Linked DNA regions of Homo sapiens: all the other regions are linked to region 1. Evidence: promoter capture Hi-C in 16 types of primary human blood cells and fetal thymus (Javierre and others, 2016). All regions are on one chromosome and are shown on one strand. Each heading gives the region's core, a stretch centred on a gene start or on the middle of the fragment in contact. The rest is flanking DNA. Distances are from core to core; before and after follow the strand shown. Region 1 holds the start of LCE1D (late cornified envelope 1D). Region 2 holds the start of SPRR3 (small proline rich protein 3). Region 3 holds the start of LCE3A (late cornified envelope 3A).

What was found. The method cuts DNA at HindIII sites, captures the fragments that hold promoters and counts their contacts. A CHiCAGO score of 5 or more calls a contact.
Region 2: a contact is called between the fragment with the promoter of SPRR3 here and the fragment with the promoter of LCE1D in region 1, in 4 of 17 cell types (erythroblasts, total CD4 T cells, M1 macrophages and 1 more). The highest score is 10.9, in erythroblasts.
Region 3: a contact is called between the fragment with the promoter of LCE3A here and the fragment with the promoter of LCE1D in region 1, in 6 of 17 cell types (M2 macrophages, total CD4 T cells, fetal thymus and 3 more). The highest score is 12.7, in M2 macrophages.

What each region holds. Positions count from the first base shown.
Region 1 is chr1:152,795,462-152,797,980 of GRCh38, reverse strand. It overlaps LCE1D (late cornified envelope 1D), which reads right to left and starts at 1,260. Exons shown (of 2, transcript NM_178352.3): 1 at 1,210-1,260; 2 at 1-208. The coding sequence starts at 186. The HindIII fragment of the contact is 8,213 bases long and covers 1-2,519 here.
Region 2 is chr1:153,000,491-153,003,009 of GRCh38, reverse strand. It overlaps SPRR3 (small proline rich protein 3), which reads right to left and starts at 1,261. Exons shown (of 2, transcript NM_001097589.2): 1 at 1,217-1,261; 2 at 1-8. The HindIII fragment of the contact is 2,627 bases long and covers 315-2,519 here.
Region 3 is chr1:152,621,843-152,624,361 of GRCh38, reverse strand. LCE3A (late cornified envelope 3A) reads left to right here and starts at 1,259. Exons shown (of 1, transcript NM_178431.1): 1 at 1,259-1,528. The coding sequence starts at 1,259. The coding sequence ends at 1,528. The HindIII fragment of the contact is 6,916 bases long and covers 1-2,519 here.

The DNA of each region.
Region 1 (2,519 bases), core at 11-2,510:
GCCCCCAGAGTTGGAGCCACAGCCGCCCCCAGAGCTGGAGCCACAGCAGCCTCCGGAGCTGACACTGCAGCAGGAAGAGACTGGAGGGCACTTAGGGGGACATTTAGGGGCGGGGCACTTGGGAGTGCACTTGGGAGTGCACTTGGGAGGGGGCTGGCACTGCTGCTGGCTCTGCTGGCAGGACATCTCGGTGGTGGGTGTTCAGGAGCTGAGGGAGAGTCAAATAACAAGTCAGACCCAGGCAGAGGCCACCTCTGCCCCTGTGACACTCTTAGCACCTCTCAAGTTTAAAAGCATCATCTTCAGTAGTTTTATTTCCAATAATTTCCTCAAAATCTCACATCATCTTTTTCAAGATATCTTTGGATGTCAGACAACTGTAAACTAAGACTAAACAATATTGCAAAATGCATCTAAGATTCTGATGTGTTGTCAGTGGAGGAAGAAATTATTACAAATATATCTTAAGACTGAAATTGTCTAATTTATGAGTCATTTAAGAGAAAATTATTTTTAAAGGAGAAGAAGCAGTCATTCTCTCTGGTCATAATTTGCAAGACGATTTTACTTTGGAAGGTCAGCATTGTGCAGGATCTTGGAGACTACTAGGTCAGTAAACTCACTTCAATAGAGACAGATAAACTTAGCAGTTTCTGCAGACTAGTACTTGAACCCTGACCCCCTGATCTCAGGTTGGAGCTCAGACTTCCTCACTCACCACCTGCTCAGGCTGATGGGATGACACGGTGGGTCTCAGGCTTGGTGTGTCCTAACCAAGCTGGGAAGTTTGTGAACAAATCTCAGACCCATGAAAATGTGGGGTTCATAAACCCCAAAGAGTCTTTAGTCCCATGTCCACAGCTCCAGTTCTTCCCTTGCAGGCAGAGACAGGGTTGTATCTTCAGAGGTGGGCTTCCCTCCTGTGGGCTGCCAGAGTGGAGCAGGTCTCTGTGCTTCAAAGTTCCCACTCTGGAACACCCACCTCATCCCAGAGCAGTTTGTTTCCTCTAGAGTTCAAAGGCACATGGCACAGCCCGCCAGCTCTTTTCCTCTTTTCCTTCCTGCTCCCAGTTAGTGCCAGACCCCTTTTGGCCCCCGCCCCTTCAGTCTTTTCTAAACTCTCCACCTCTGACAACATGGCCCTAGCCCCGGAGGCCCTGCCCCTCCTTCCCTCCTGCTCTGTTCTGAGCATCCCTGCTCTGTTCTTACCGGAGTCACAGGCAGCACAGGGTTCTTTAGCACCTCAGGAGGTGAGTGGATGGGGTGGTCTGGCCCTGAGCCCTTTTATCCTGGCCTGGGCTCTGCCCCAGCTGTGAGACAGGGCCTGGGCATGAGAGGACCTTCCTTCTGACACCCACGTGGGTCTTGTGATGGTTGGTGACTGACAGCTCCTCACCTGCCTCTCTCCCCAGGCTCAAGGCAGCCACTCCCAGGTAGGAAAGTGCCTACTTGAAACGGGGTTCCAGGATGACTCCTACCATCACCTACCTCATTCACTTGAAGGCTGCTTGCCCTGAGAGCCTCTCAGTTCTCAGTCTTAGAACTTAGGACCTATCTCATTTCTGTCTCTTCCGAAGTACCTGATGCTCCGTGCAGCCTGGGTTGAAGTTGAAGTACTAATCCCTGAGGTTTCCATGCATGTTTATTTCTGTCCCTGTGCACCACCAAACTGTGTGGCTGTGGGTGCAGTGTAGACATCTACACAAGTAAAACCCTGGAAGTATAACCCGGCCCAGGACCAGGCCCTGCGAGATGGGACTGTTGAAACTATTTAGCCTGTACCATTTTTTAAACCATAAAGCTGGAAGATGAAAAAGAATTAGTTACAGAAGAATTAGTTGGTTGTGAAAGTCAATAAAGTAACACAAAAAAGAGAAAATGTGCCTGACAGAGAGACTGAAACATTGTAGGCTCTGAATAAGTGAAACATTCATAACTTGCTGAATACAGAATGAAGATACTGATCTTTGTTTAACAAACGAAGCACAGCTTTTTTCTAATGAGAGTGAGTCTGGCTGTTTGGTGATCTGTTTGCTTTTAAATAGCCCTTTTCTTCTGGTGGGGTCCTTGATGTGTCAGCACTGAGATGTGAACAAGGAAGCAGCTCATTAGAGAAACAAGAAGCAGCAGCTCTGCTCTTTGTATTGGTGTGAGAATTTGGACTTTTCTGGGTTCACACTGGGAGCACCGGATGATGGTCACAGATGAGAAACAGGAAGAAAAGAGACATGGTTGTGAGACATTATAAGTCTACGCTTCCATGTGGGGTCAAATGGCTGGCAGAACCCCGTCCTGGACCATAAGGGGACGGGTGCCTTTTAAGAACAAGAGTCCTTAATATTTAATGTGAATGTGTTTATGCTGCTACTTTGGAAGCCCCTCTCCTCTCTCTCCACTAGAATCACTAGCTTTCTACATGTCCACAGGATTTATATGAATGGAGTGTTCTGAATTTATACATTTTTAGGATATTAATGAAATGGGCTGCTGTTCATTCTAGGACACACTAGTCACTAAGA
Region 2 (2,519 bases), core at 12-2,511, 210 kb before region 1:
TGCTGGACCTAGAGACAAAACAGCTAATTCAGTGCTTTGATTAAGTAGGAATGAAGCCCAGTTTAATGACAAATATCTGTCATTTCATTCTCCTTCAGAACTGAGAGCCTCTCTTTTCTTTCTTTTTCCCTGAATTTGAGATCATGGGATGCTTTGGTGATCCCCACTTATCTTCCAGAGAATAAGGTAAAGTTGATTTCTTCCACATCGTGTAAATGGAGCCTTTCTTTATGCTTCTTTTCTTCCTGGTACATCTAAAAACCTACGTACAACATGAAAACACATACAAATATGCAAATATATACTCTGAAGCTTTCGCTTACACACTCTTTGAAGAATCCTCTAAGCTCCTGAATTAAGCAGAAAGTCTTAGTGGCTTTTCTGGTCTTCAGCTGCTCAGGGATCATCTGAGGAATTGAGTGAAAAGAAATGCATGTTTCTTGCTCTTCCCTGATTAAATCACTTTTAATACCACTCTTGGCTGTGTGTCATTGGCTGAAGATTGATGTGACACCTCAGTTTTTCCATAAGTTGGAAAGATTTTAAGGTCAGCAGTCTAGAATCTACTCACTCATGTCCTCCTTATAGAGTGCGATAGTTCTCCCAGGAGAACTCTTATCTAAACTTCCCCCTAAGGCTCCCACAATCCACCTGGGAGCCTCTGTTCACACTGTGCCTGCTGCACATGCTCTCTGGCAGGCTCTCCACATCATCGCTGCCTCCCCACACATGCCCACCTCTCATGGCTGTCCTTCCTGATGCTCTCACCTTCCTCGTTTTGCCACAGCATGATACTTGCTTTCCCTCTCTGCTAATCACTCCCCATGCTGTATGTTTGCAAATTTTAGTCAAGTATATGTTTTCTAATGGATTATACATTCATGCAATAAAGAAAAACTTATCTTTTGATCATCAAAATTGCCAATGTAGTGCCTTCTATATTAAAAATTTTCAATACATGTTGACAGGAGAGTGCTCTTGAAGTGGGTATATTGTCTTGCTAACTTAGCAAGCCTTTACAGAAATCACTCCCCTTTTCTGATCCTAAGTTCCACACCTGTAATCTGAGTGGAAAGTCAAAATATGTATAAGGTCACCTTAAACAAAAGTCGTTATTGCATTTAAAATAAATATATTCATTGCATAGCAAAGAGATCTCAATCAAAATAAAGAAACTATTGGAGAATATTAAGGTGTTCCTAATGCGGAGACTCACCTGCTGTGCAGAGAAGGTCGAGGTGTTCAGCCTCTGGGATCTGGTGAAGAGTCTCTTGTTAGCTGGTATTTATATAGAAAATGAGCCCTGCCTTAAGAAAATTGGATTTTTTAAAAGACTGCTCTAACTTCATTCCAGCTTTTGTGATAAGTATCTCTGGCTTAACATTTTTTGTCACTTAAGCTCTGACAGTGATGTCACCTGGGCCTGACTCACTGTCCACCCTTTGTGGTGTGGTTGCTGTGGGCAAAGGTCTTCTTGAATGGCAATGGATTAAATTAGGAGGAAGTACCATGCTCCTAGGACTAGAACGAGCCAGGCCTCTTGGCCTGGGCCCTAATCTTTAGCCAGATTAGTCCTATTGGGCTTCCTCATGGTTGAAGTGGACATGGAAATAACAATAGGCATTTCTGGTTCTGCGAGGCCATGGGGATGGTGCAGAATAAGTGAATCATCTGATTTTCAGTCTCTTACTGGATTTGGACCTGGGAGGAGCAATGGAAGGCAAAATGCCTGCTTTGGAAATAAGTTGCTTTCACTGTGAAGGGCGCCTTAAGGTGCCGTGTTGATCAGGGATAGTAGATGTCATTGAGATGGACAGGCAGGATTGACTGGATCTGTGTGACATTGTGGCTCAGCCCTGAAGACCCTGCCTCTTGTGGTATCTTTCTTCTCCAGGAGTGACATAGGAAGAGGAGCGTGCTGATTCCCTAGGTTCATACACCAGCCATTTCCTCTGATCACTACAGGATGAACCTCAAGTCACTAACTCAGAGTTGCCCTCAATACACACTCTCTTACTAGACGCGGCCCTTGGAAAATCCAGACATCCTTACATCTCAGGCATGTGAATAGCTCCTCCTTTCCCAATGTTCCACGACTGTGTTACTCCCTTGAACCTGATGCCCAGCTCCTTCCACCAGGTTCTGAAAGCCCCTTGTTCTACTTCAGCGTCACACAGTGCCTGGTTATCATGGGTGTTAAGTCAATGGACAGTCATTGTTCTCCTGAATAGAGCTGTAGGTTCATGGAAGGGAGAAAGGAAGTGAGAAAGAAACAGAGATAGATAAAGAAGAAAGGAAAGAAAGAAAGAAAGAGAGAGAGAGAGAAGGAAAGAAAGAAAGAAAGGAAGGAAGAAAGGAAGGGGAGGGGAAGGAAAGGAAAAGAAAAGAAAAGAGAAAAGAAAAGAGGAAAGATAGGGAGGGAGGGAGGAAGGCAGGAAGCCACAAGGCAGTTTCTTGGGCATGATTCACTGTCCTGTGCCAGGCCTCCTGGTGTGAGCTGAGAAGAGGTGTGAGCTGAT
Region 3 (2,519 bases), core at 10-2,509, 170 kb after region 1:
TTCTTCCACCCCTTACTCAACCCAGGTCCAGTGAGCTCAGTGCAGCCAACATCTCAGGACACAGGGGCTGATTCCATCACCTATGTAAAGGAATCCACAAAGCAATGGGGACTGACACCCAAAGGCAGTGACCCCAGCCTGCCATGTTTGTGCACACTTGTGCTGCGTCGCTTAGCACATAGGATGTGATTTAATTGCTCAGTTGTCCATCTGGCCTTCTGAAAAGCTGTGAGCTAGTCAAGGGGAGAAATGTGTTCTGTTTGTCCCCATATTACCAGGCCCCACAAAGGACGTACCCTGGCTTCAGAGCATGTGAGCTGAATGAAGAAAAAAAAGTGGAACAGCAGCCAGAGGGCCTGAACGGTGGATAATTGGACCGTCATCGAGATTTCCTGCTTCCCTTTTGTCATTCCTCAAAATATGCGCCTTAAGAATATGCTGAAAGCCTGGTCCTTGGGAGTGTGTGGTGCTTCCCCTCCCTTTGGGGAGCAAAGGAGGACACATAGTTGGGCTGTGCATCATAATACCCAGGATAAAAGGGCTGAGGCCCTGGGTTCCTCAGTCCACAATCACCTCAGGAAGAACCTTCTCCTGCCTCCACCAAACCAGGTGAGCGTCCAGCTGGCGAGAGGACCTGGGCTGAAAGGGCTGCGCAAACACGTCTGTGCTTCAACAAGGAGAGGGGAGGAGGCAGACACGGTGGAGGCGGCAGAGAGGCTGTGGTGGGTGGCCGGCTGGGACTGGGATGGGAGATGGGCGGGATAGTGAGGAAGACAGACAAGTCTGCGAGCCACTTCAGGGGCTCCGCGATGCTGCGACCTCTGAACCCCCTTTTCCTCATGTGCGCAGAGATGCGTTGCCTCCTCACACCCTGCGCTCACAGGCGTCCAGAGAGACGCCACCCTGGAGGGTCATGGGCGTTGTGTTCACGGGACGCCTGCAGGGGGAGCTGTTCGCATCGGGTCCGGAGGTGTGACAGGCCCCGCAGGGCGTGCGCAGGAGCCCCAGAGGCCCACCCAGGAGTGTCAGCTGCCTCCCAGGCAGGGGAGAGGGCCGGAGGAAGGGGCAGTATCAGGCCGGTTTAACTTCAGATCCGTTTGCATTCCCCTTCCCCAGGTCTTAGCTGGAGGGCAGACTGAGTTTAGGGGAAGGGATCCACAATTAAACCAAAGCATGAGGAGGCCCTGGCCTGAAACCTGCATTGACACGTATTTTGCTTTGCTTTTATTTTGCCCAGGCTCCCTGACCTCCTGCCTAGATGTCCTGCCAGCAGAACCAGCAGCAGTGCCAGCCTCCGCCCAAGTGCCCTGCAAAGAGCCCAGCACAGTGTCTGCCTCCAGCTTCCTCCAGCTGTGCCCCAAGCTCTGGGGGCTGTGGGCCCAGCTCCGAGCGCAGCTGCTGCCTGAGTCACCACAGATGCCGCAGGTCTCACCGTTGCCGTTGCCAGAGCTCCAACTCCTGTGACAGGGGAAGTGGTCAGCAAGGCGGGAGCTCCAGCTGTGGCCACAGTTCTGCGGGCTGCTGCTGACCTGAGCCACGAGATTAAGTAAAAATATTTGAGAAAAGAAAGTGCCAAAATGACTGGAACCAGCCCTAGCCTGGTGCTTCTTTGCTCCTGTCTCCTCTTTCCTACTGAGATGTTCCTTGATGAGTTTCAAGTACTCCCCCAGGGGATTTATCCTGCTGGTCTTAGTGTTTTCCCTCCTTCTTTAATATCCCTGTGCTGTGAAGAATAAAGCTGTGCTTTCTCGTTGCAAGCTCTGTCCAGTGCGTTCCCGTCTTTGCCTTACAGGGGCTGCCCCACATTGGGTACATAGGCCTATCTTAGGAACAGACACAAGTGGGTCATACACCCCTCAACTCACAAAACCCTTTTAGGGGGGTTGTATATTAGTGTGGGAATGAGGTGAGCAGTCTTTCACAAGGTCAAGGACAGAAGCATGAGTTGGAAATAAACACAGAGCTCTGGAAAACAAAGGGAATGAGCTTACTGGGCCCGTTCAGATCCTTCCGAAAACACTTTGGTAGCTCAGCCCTAGATGGCAGAGAAGAAGAGAAGCTCCAGATGGGAGCAGGTCCTTGGTCCTCTGGTTCCTCCAACTCTGATACTCTGTAGTCTTCATGACCCAGGACCACAGCAGCCCCCAGAGCTGTGGCAGCAACTGGAGCCTCCAGAATGCTCTGTTGGGCATGTCAGTGGGATCTGTGGGCCCATGGTGACTCCGGTAGCAGCTTCCTGCAGAGCTGGAACCACAACAGAAATAGACTGGCAGCAAACAACCAAAAGGATACTTGAGGGTTAGGCACTTGGGAGGGGGCTGACAGTGCTGTTAGTTTTTCCTTTCAGGACATCTCAGCTCAGTGATCCCTGGAAGAAATGAAAAAGTAAATCATTGTTTTCTATCTATCTATCTATCTATCTATCTATCTATCTATCTATCTATCTATCTATCTCTATCTACCTATCTGTCTCCCCTTGTCCCTCACCGTCTTTCTCAGACCCTGACCCTATGACCCTA